2 separate regions of the Homo sapiens genome follow, and region 2 is linked to region 1. The links are contacts of gene promoters, found by promoter capture Hi-C in blood cells and fetal thymus (Javierre and others, 2016). All regions are on one chromosome and are shown on one strand. The core of a region is centred on a gene start or on the middle of the fragment in contact, and the rest is flanking DNA. Distances in the headings are between cores, read along the strand shown.

Region 1 (4,889 bases), core at 632-3,131:
CTGAGGTTGGCGGACTGCCTGAGATCAGGCGTTCGAGACCAGCCTGGCCAACATGGCGAAACTCTGTCTCTACTAAAAATACAAAAATCAGCCAAGCCTTGGGACACATGCCTGTAGTCCCAGCTATTCGGGAGGCGGAGGCAGGAGGATCGCTTGAACTCGGGAGGCAGAGGTTGCAGTAAGCCGAGATCGCACCACTGCACTCCAGCCTGGGCGACAGAGCAAGACTCTGTCTCAAAAAAAAAAAAATTTTTTTTTAAATAAATTGCCCTTTGCCCTTTACACTCATTTTTTTAAAGAGCAATCAAATGTTTTAATATGAAAAAGCTACCTTAAAAGACAGCTAGCTATTCAAAGAATATTGATACTCCCACAGAATGAAAATGTTAGATTTAATATGCTATTCATCTGTATTTTAAATGCTTTTAAATCGAGAATGAGCAAAAGACTAAGTAGCTAGCTTCCTCGTTTGTATTTTAAGAGTGGTGAAAACTGCCTGAAATAATAAACAAGAATCTTATATGTTAATTCAGAGAAGATACAAACCTGGATACACATTCTGGGGCAAATCACCATGGTTTCCTATGTAAAACAGCGATTTCTCCACATTTGTTCAGCATATATACTAACAGTGCTTTGCTGATGTGGTTACAATGAATTCTCCACAATTCAATTCAACAAGTATTTATTGACCGCCTCCAATCCGCCTAGCACTGGCCCGTACAATAAATGCTTTCTTTGGTCCCAGGCCATGGAACAGCCACTCTCTATAATGAAAGTATCTTACTGTGTACAGGGGGCACTGCAGGAAAGGGAGGGGAGGGATGGAGGAGTGTCAAGCTAAACTGTAGTTAATTCTTCAATTACATTGACCAAATCATTTCGAAGTCGGAAGGGCCTTTTGAGAAAATCCAGTTAGTTTTTATTGATGACGAAATTAAGACTTGGTGAGTGTCTCGTCTTATCCAAGGTCACTCAGCTAATCAGTCTCCTAGTGACACAGTGCAATTTCCACAAATTCCCTTCACTTCTCACCCCACTCCATGTCAAACAGAGCAACTATCCAGAATTGAAAAATCCACCTAACGTCCCGGACAGCTCTTTTCCAAAGCCTTCAAAGCATTCCATCAAGCTGAAAGAGTGGGGTGTATATAATCTCTACTAGATCCCAATCACCTATTTATCCACTATGACTAGGCTTCAAATACTCTTTAATCACCGCTCAGTGATGAGGGTGGGAGAAGGAAAGGCAGGTCTGGAAACGTATGCGGCACCTCAAAATGTGTCCATCTCTCATCCTTCCGCTCATTTCACCTCGAGGTCCCGAAGGAACCGGGGGGGGAAAAAGACACCTCACCGGAATCAAAGCAAATGGCGACTAAGGGAGAGCAGAAAAATCAAGACCGGGGTCGGTTCGCTCGCGACCCCGTTTGCAGAAACGTCAAAGGGCGATGACGACACTGCGGGAGAGGGGCCCACAGACGGCTTCTCCCCGGGTCTCCGGGCACCCTCAGCCACTGAAACCCTCGCCCCCTCCCCGCCTGATCCTGGGGGTGGGGCGGGGACGTCTCCCAGGAAGAACGGCGCTTTCTACGGCCGGGCCCGGCCAGGAGGCAGGGGCATGGACTCTCTTCGCACAACAGCGGGGCCGCCTGGAGGGGGTCCCAGGGCCGCAGCTGCGGAGCCCACCCTCGCGCACACACCCTTGCGGCCCCGCCCTCCCACCCCAGAGGCCGGCCCCAAGTCTCACCGTGAGCCCCGGGAGCGGCCTGGGGGCGCTGGGCGAGAAAGGGGAGCTGACTCTGGGGCTCAGGCCGGCCGAAGGGCACCGCACACGGACTTAGGCCCTCCCGACGCCTCGACACAGACACAATGAGTCACAAAGGCCGGAAGCGTGTCACCACCTCGTCTTCCGGGACCGCGCCGCGCTTCCGGGTCCTCTCTAGGAGCGCGGGAGGACTTTGCATCTCGGTTTCCGAATCGCTGGACCAGGCGCCTGCCCTTGAGTTTTCAAGCCTCCAGCTTGGAGGATCAGGTCCCAGTCCGCCCCTAGTTAATGCAGGGACTAACGGGAGCAGGTGGTGGGGGGTTTCAGGCTTTCCCCTACTCAAACTCAAACAGACTCTCCAGCTCAGACACCAGTCCATGTGAAAGTTCGATTTCACCTGTCTTTTTCATCTCAGGCAGTCCTTGTAGTAATTATAGTTATTATCAAGCAATATAGTACTTGGTAATTGTATGTCTGTGGCAAAGGAACTGAAACAAGGATGTAGACTGAGGAAGATCAAAGTGAAGCCAAGGGTGGCTGGTTTCCCAAAGCTGCCACGGTAGCTTCTCTCAGGGCCCTGGAGCTATATGGAGTGGTATTTTCAAATACTTGGCCCGTGGACAAGGGATGTCTTTCCACAAGCAAGCATAGTTATAAGGTTCTGTGCTTTGCTCATGTGGCATATGCTATTATAGCCGTTTAAAAGGAGTTTTCAGAGTAACAACAGACACTTTTACCTTCAAAGTGCTTTCACAACCTACCACAGTTACAGCCTTCATCTTTGCCTTGCAGGGTAAGGCACGCATAAGAGGGGGCCACGTTGTGCAAGGGTGGGGGGGACTACAGGCTTTAATGGTTGTGACTTTCCACTATGTTCCGAGACAAGTTCATGGGAGAAACTCAGTAGCTTGGTTGCATGACTCTTACTGCTTGGAGAGATTTACTTTTTTTTTTTAGATGGAGTCTCGCTCTGTCACCCAGCCTGCAGTGCAGTGGCACCATCTTGGCTCACTGCAACCTCCACCTCCCAGGTTCAAGCGATTCTCCTGCCTTAGCCTCCTGAGTACCTGGGACTACAGGCGCACACCACCATGCCTGGTTAATTTTTGTATTTTTGGTAGAGAACAGGGTTTCACCATATTGGCCAGGATGGTCTCGATCTACTGACCTTGTGATCCACCCGCCTCAGCCTCCCAAAGTGCTGGAATTACAGGCGTGAGCCACCGTGCCCGGCCAGATTTACTTTTTAAAAAATGTTTGAAAACTAAAAAGCAATGACAGGGCCAGACACGATGACTCAAGCCTGTAATCTTAGCACTTCGGGAGGCTGGGACGGGAGGATTCTTGAGCCCAAGAGTTGGAGACCAGCCTAAGCAACGTAATGAGACCCTCTCTCTACAAAAAATACTAAAATTAGCTGGGTGCAGGGTAGTGTGTGCCAGTGGTCCCAGCTGCTTGGGAGGCTGAGGTAGAAGGATAGATTGAGCCCAGGAGGTTGAGGCTGCAGTGAGCTATGATTGTGCCATTGCACCCCAGTCTGGGCCACAGAGCAAGATCCCATCTCAAAAAAGAAAAAAAGGGCCGGGCACGGTGGCTCATGCCTGTAATCCCAGCAGTTTGGGAGGCCAAGGTGGGTGGATCACGAAGTCAAGAGATTGAGATCATCCTGGCCCATATGGTGAAACCCCGTCTCTACTAAAAATACAAAAATTAGCTGGGCGTGGTGGCACACGCCTATAGTCCCAGCTACTTGGGAGGCTGAGGCAGGAGAATCGCTTGAACTCCAGAGGCGGAGGCTGCAGTGAGCCGAGATCGTGCCACTGCTCTCCAGCCTGGGGACAGAGCTAGACTCTGTATCCAAAAAAGAAGCAACAACAGTATCATTAAAGGAAATTTGCAAAATGGAGAAAAATAATTACCGGTAATCTCTCCACCCTAACACAATCCCCATGGCTTTAGTTTACCTTTTTCCTGTTTTCATATACAAATAAATATTTATTGATATTATTTTAAACACTGTTCAAAACCATAGTTGCAGTTGTATTGAAGAGGAGGCTGGTATCCTGGAAGTATCTGCTACATTCATATCATGTGAACACTGTTTTTTAAGGAAGAGAAAATATATTTACTATTCAGTAAGTGGAAATAGATCATCATCAAGGTCTTCATACTCATCGTCTTCACACTGAGTAAGCTGAGGAGGAAGAGGAAGGGTTGCTCTTGCTGTCTCAGGGGTGGCAGAGGCAGGAAGTGATCCACCAGCCTCGGCCTCCCAAAGTGCTAGGATTACAGGTGTGAGTCACTGCACCTGGCCTCTTTTCTTTCTTTTTTTTTGAGAGAGTTTCCCTCAGTTGCCATGTTGGAGTGCAATGGCGTGATCTCAGCTCACTGCAACCTCCGCCTCCTGGGCTCAAGTGATTCTCATGCCTCAGCCTCCCAAGTAGCTAGGATTACAGGTGTGCACTCACCATGCCTGGCTAATTTGTGTATTTTTAGTAGAGATGGGGTTTTACCATGTTGGCCATGCTGGTCTCGAACTCCTGGCCTCAAGTGATCCACCCACCTCAGCCTCTCAAAGTGCTGGGATTACAAGTGTGAGCCACCGCGCCTGGCCTCGACATCTTTGATTACTTCCTAAGGATGGATTCCAAGAAATGAGATTACTGGTCCCACAGATAGTCAGAGGGAATATAGGCAATAACGTTTGTAACCCCAGGGTTCTAGACCTGTCAGCAAACAAGCTCAGCTGACAAGATCAGGTGGTATCCACCCAAGAGTTTTGAAAGGACTCTAAGATGAAAGTGTTGAAAGAATCATGAAACTAATGATTTATGATTACAAAGAGACATTGTGCTTAAAAATTGGCTGGCTGCCCTGAACAAATAAAAGTTCCTGAAGGGCACCCTAGAAACTGTGGTTGCCTAAGTTTGACTTCTGTGTTGTGAAAGCTGGTGGAGTCAATGCTGAAGGGGAGCCCGGGTTTGCGGCTGTGACTGGGTGGCTGCAGCTACTCCTGGGAGGGAGGGTCTCCTGTCCCTCCAACTTGGAAGGAGTGGGGGCTTCCATGTGTTCCCAGCTCCCTCCAGCTCTGTGGAGTGCTGCGATCCCAGCTATGCCTCAC
Region 2 (5,035 bases), core at 1,783-4,282, 860 kb before region 1:
TCACCACGTTGCCCAGGTTGGTCTCAAATTCCTGGGCTCAAGCAATCCACCCACCTTCGCCTCCCAAAGTGTTGGGATTACAGGCATGAGCCACTGCGCCGGCCCAAAATTTTAATTTTCACTGGAAAGTTCTACTTCATCACTGGCAACAAATACCAACAGCTTACACTGAAGTAACAGGTTCTCAGTTCATTTTCAAGATGTCTGCCAAATACCCAAGTATGAACAATCACTGTTTGTCATTCATTCAAGTAAAAATAACATCCCATGGAAAAAAGCTGTTAGTTCAGCTCACTCAATCACATGCGTACTCTTGCTCAAGACAACTAACGCGGGCCTGTAATCCCAGCACTTTGAGAGGTCGAAGCAGGTGGATATGTGAGGTCAGGAGTTCAAGACCAGCTGGCCAACATGGTGAAACCCCATCTCTACTAAAAATACAAAAATTAGCCAGGCAGAGTGGCACGCACCTGTAATCCCAGCAACTCGGGAGGCTGAGGCAGGAGAATCACTTGAACCCAGGAGGTGGAGGTTGCAGTGAGCTGAGATCGCCCCACTGCACTCCAGCCTGGGTGACAGAGCAAGATTCTGTGTCAAAAAAAAATTTTTTTAAAAAAGACGTACAGTCAAGAGTCCAATCTAATCAAATTTAAATGTTTTACTCTTTCATCAAGAATCATTGATGGAAGTGGCTTTTTTTTTTTTTTTTTTTTTTGAGACAGAGTCTTGCTCTGTCGCCAGGCCGGAGTGCAGGGGTGTGATCTCAGCTCACTACAACCTGTGCCTCCTGGGTTCAAGCAATTCTCCTGTCTCAGCCTCCCAAGTAGCTGGGACTACAGGCGCGCACCACCATGCCTGGCTAACTTTTGTATTTTTAGTAGAGACAGGGTTTCACAATGTTGGCCAGGATGGTCTCAATCTCTCGATCTCGTGATCTGCCCGTCTCGGCCTCCCAAAGTGCTGGGATTTCAGGTGTGAGCCACTGGGCCCGGCTGGCTTTTTTTTTTTAACTCTTTGCTGTCACTGCCTTGATGTTTGGTAAAGCATCAGCGGTTTTACCCATCATTGCTATGGCACCAACAGTGGAAATGGCAATAATATGTAAACATTACCACAAAAACTAATTTTAGCCTCGGAGACCCCCTATGGTCTGTGGACATCCTGAGAAACAGGACTCTAACCAAACTAGAATATGCTAAAATCACACGTTATGTCCACAACTCCAAGCTGTTCATGTCACTCGTGTCTGGGGAATTCCCACTCATCTTTCCAAGTCTAGCCAAGTGTCACTTTCCAGTGGGTCCCTGACACACAACCTCCAGCACCGCTCCCCTCCTTTAGAGATCTGTTCCCTCAATGCTTACCCTCTTTATAACTTCCACTATATATACTCATTTACAGAATACATCCACTGCCATTCTGATCCCCCATGCCAAGCTCACTGTAACACCCTAAGGTCAATAACCACATCTTATAATCAATCCAATCAGCACCGCCCTATGAACTCTGAGATTTTAGGCAAAACAGTGACAAGAAACCTAATCATATATTGTCAGGGAAATAATCTGACGACCTCTCCAGTCAGATCAACTCTATATTATTATTTTTCTGAAGCAATCCTCCTAAAATATAATTTACAACCTGGGCAACAGAGCAAGACGCTGTCTCTACAAAAAATAATTTTAGACCAAGCACTGGCTCATGCCTGTAATCCCAGCACTTTGGGAGGTCGAGCTGGGTGGATTACCTAAAGTCGAGAGTTCCAAACCAGCCTAGCCAACATGGTGAAACCCCGTCTCTACTAAAAATACAAAAATTAGACGGGCGTGGTGGCAGGTGCCTGTAATCCCAGCTACTCGGGAGGCTGAGGCAGGAGAATTACTTGAACCCCAGAGGCGAAGGTTGCAGTGAGCCAAGATTGCGCCATTGCACTCCAGCCTGGGCGACAGGGCAAGACTCTGTCTCGAAATAACAATAATAATTTTTAAAAGTTAGGCGGGCGTGATGGCCTCCCCCTGGAGTCCCAGCTTCTCAAGAGGCTGAGGCGGGAGGCTCGGTTGAGCCCGGGAGGTGGAGGCTGCTACGACTGCATCAATGCACTCCAGCCAGGGCAGCAGAACAAGACCCCATCTCAATAACAAAACAAAAAAAAGCAAAAAAGCACGCTTTTCGTGCATGTATAAACAGTGCTTCTTCATACTCAAACTCTTAGCTCTATAGCTCTGATCTGCAGAGAATTTCAAAAACCAAGCCACAGCTAGTTATTTGGCCAACAGCAAATAGGCTGAACCACAGAAAACGGTCCAATGAGCCATTTCATAGGATTCGCCCTCATAAAAATTACAAGGGGGAGAAAGAAAAGCGACGCGGGTGGAGTGAAACGGCATGAAACGGGGACAAGATGAAGTTAAAAACGGCTCACCTGTCATTCCAATCGTCCCCTCGACGTCTTTCATCTCTCTCGCGGGAACGGTCGTAGTCGCTGCGCTCTCTTCTGAACTTGTCCCTGCGCCTTCGATCGTACTCGTCATCACTGTCACCCATGGCACGGTCTGAGGGGGCCTGGGGACCGGGGAGAGGCGGTAGGAGTGGTGCAAAAGGACGAGCGGAGGAAGGGACCGTCCCTCGCGGGCAGCTCGCCCGCTTCCCTCCCGCCAAGGCCAGCCCTCCGCGGCCCCCACCATCCTAGGCCTGAGAACGCGGCTCCAACACCTCCACTCGCCCCGAGTTTCTCCGCGCCCGCCCCCGTGGACCCCGGTTCCTCTCCCGCCCCAGCGGGGCCCCCCAGGCTCCTCCCCTCCCCCACCTTGGTGCGGCCGCGGCCGTTGGACTCGCGCTCGGACGGGCTAGATTTCAGGGCGACCTGGGTCGCGGGCGCGCGACGAGGACTTCGAGGAGGGCGAGACGGAGACGGAGCTCTTGAGTAGAGGGCCGAAGAGAGGCGAACAAAAGTGGGACAACCGGGGATGGGCAGTAGCGCGCGCAGCCCGCGCTGCGCCTGCGTCACCCACGCCTCCGAGGCACAAAGCTCCACCCTCGCGGCCGGAACTGGAACTAACAAACCGAGCGCGAAGGGCGGGGAGAGCAGGGCGTGATGGGAAAGGGGCGGGGATCTCGCAAGTCTCGCGCGGCTTTTCGAGACGATAACGGCTCGAGCGTTAGGAACTACGGGACCTCGGCTGGGCCAAGCGCGGCCTCGGGAGGCGAACAAGCCCTCTGGGCGCGAAGGGAGAGCGGAAGTCGAGGATCGCGCGACCCCAGATGTGTCGGGGTCCTAAGACGGTTCTCATCCAGCCATGTTCCCCCCACGGGCCTCCTGACCTCACCGGGGGTGATTTCGTCCCCTCCTCGGGCAGGGCGTGGGCTTGGGAAGCGCGGGCGCTTAGGGGATGGAAGGTGGAAGCAACCATTTTAAAGCATCGTATCCCACCATTTTCTGCTCCAAATATCCAGCCAAAATTGGGTGCCACAGTGCGCACTAAATGCAAAGTCCGCCGTTCCTGCTTTTCCTCGACAAAGACGCCCCGTCTTTAAGTAAAATTGGCAGATCTCAGTCTTAACCCCGCTCAGTATTTGGATGAAATAGGCTGTAAGTTAACGCCCTAAACAGAGTATGGACCGCCCAGATTCAATGGATTACCACCCCCGGGAGTAACACCAAGGCCCCTCTCAGTGAATTGAGTGTGAGACTTAATAGGAAGACCAGCTGAGATGGCTCACGCCTGCAATCCCAGCGCTTTGGGAGGCCGACGTGGGAGAATCACTTGAGCCCAGGAGTTGGAGACCTGCCTGGGCAACATAGCAAGGCCCCTTTACAGAATATTTAGGGCCAGGCACATTGGCTCACACCTGTGATCCCAGCACTTGGGAAGGTCGAGGAGGGAGGACTTAAGCCCAAGAGTTCAGGACTAGCCTGGGCAACATAGCAAGATCCCATCTACACACAAAAAAATAATAACTGGGCTTGGTGGGATGCCCCTGTGGTCCTAGCTACTGGGGAGGCTAAGCCAGGAGGACTGTTTGAGCCCAGGAGTTCAGGGCTGCAGTGAGCCTTGATTGCACCACTGCACTCTAGCCTGGGGAACAGAGTGAGGCCCTGTCTCAAAATAGATACATAGAGGAAATCTTGCCTCCTCCCTGAGGCGTGCTTGCTCCCAGCACTGAGAGGAGGGTAGTGACGGATTACAAGAGTTGTCAAAAAAAACTGGACCTGAGTCAAAAAGACCCAGGTTCCACCATTTAAGAACCATGCAATCTGGGGGAGTCACCTCTCAGCTCTGACATCCTCACATGTAAAAATGCAGACAGTGGCCAAGGGCGGTGGCTCACGCCTGTAATCCCAGCACTTTGGTTGGGTGAAGCGGGCAGATCACTTGAGGTCAGGAGTTCAAGACCACCCTGACCAAGGTGGTGAAACCCCGTCTCTACTAAAAATACAAAATTAGCCAGACGTGGTGGCGGGCGCCTGTAATCCCAGCTACTCAAGAGGCTGAGGCAAGAGAATCACTTGAACCTGGGAGGCAGAGGTTGCAGTGAGCCGAGATGGCACCACTGCATTCCAGCCTGGGTGACAGAGCCAGACTCCGTCTCAAAAAAAAAAGAAAAAAAATGCAGGCAGTAACAATGACTGGGCCTGTAATGGGCTACTGGGAGAATCAGATGAGACAACAGACTTGGAAGTGTTTTGTAAACTCGAGGGATTATTATTTCTTGATTGGAGAAAGAGAAGACAGCATTTGGTGACAAAGTCATACAGGTGGATGTCAGGGAGAGTGATCAATCAAAGGATGGGAACTGGAACTGAGAACCCAGCAGGTACTTCTAGGAAGACTCAGCAGTCAGTGGTGACGGTGGCTGAGAGCTCCTGGATGCGCCAGGCGCTGCAGGCCTTGCACAAGATGTGCCCATCCAGCGGGTAGCAGCCCTGACACTCGCCCTCAGAGGAGAGCAGCAGCCCACACTCCTGTTGAAAAAGAAGCAACAATTGGCCGGGCGCGATGGCTCACGCCTGTAATCCCAGCACTTTGAGAAGCCG

What was found. Contacts are between HindIII fragments. The CHiCAGO score rates a contact against its expected background, and 5 or more counts as called.
Region 2: a contact is called between the fragment with the promoter of SRRT here and the fragment with the promoter of ZKSCAN1 in region 1, in 1 of 17 cell types (neutrophils). The highest score is 7.8, in neutrophils.

Annotation. Positions count from the first base shown.
Region 1 is chr7:100,012,588-100,017,476 of GRCh38, reverse strand. ZKSCAN1 (zinc finger with KRAB and SCAN domains 1) reads right to left here and starts at 1,881. Exons shown (of 6, transcript NM_003439.4): 1 at 1,751-1,881. RefSeq lists a silencer at 1,626-1,795. The HindIII fragment of the contact is 19,683 bases long and covers 1-4,889 here.
Region 2 is chr7:100,873,100-100,878,134 of GRCh38, reverse strand. It overlaps SRRT (serrate, RNA effector molecule), which reads right to left and starts at 3,032. Exons shown (of 20, transcript NM_015908.6): 1 at 2,807-3,032; 2 at 2,423-2,562. The coding sequence starts at 2,544. TRIP6 (thyroid hormone receptor interactor 6) reads right to left here. Exons shown (of 9, transcript NM_003302.3): 9 at 4,681-4,963. The coding sequence ends at 4,832. RefSeq lists a silencer at 2,551-2,780 and enhancers at 2,921-2,980, 3,191-3,240, 2,817-3,482, 3,483-4,147. The HindIII fragment of the contact is 10,507 bases long and covers 1-5,035 here.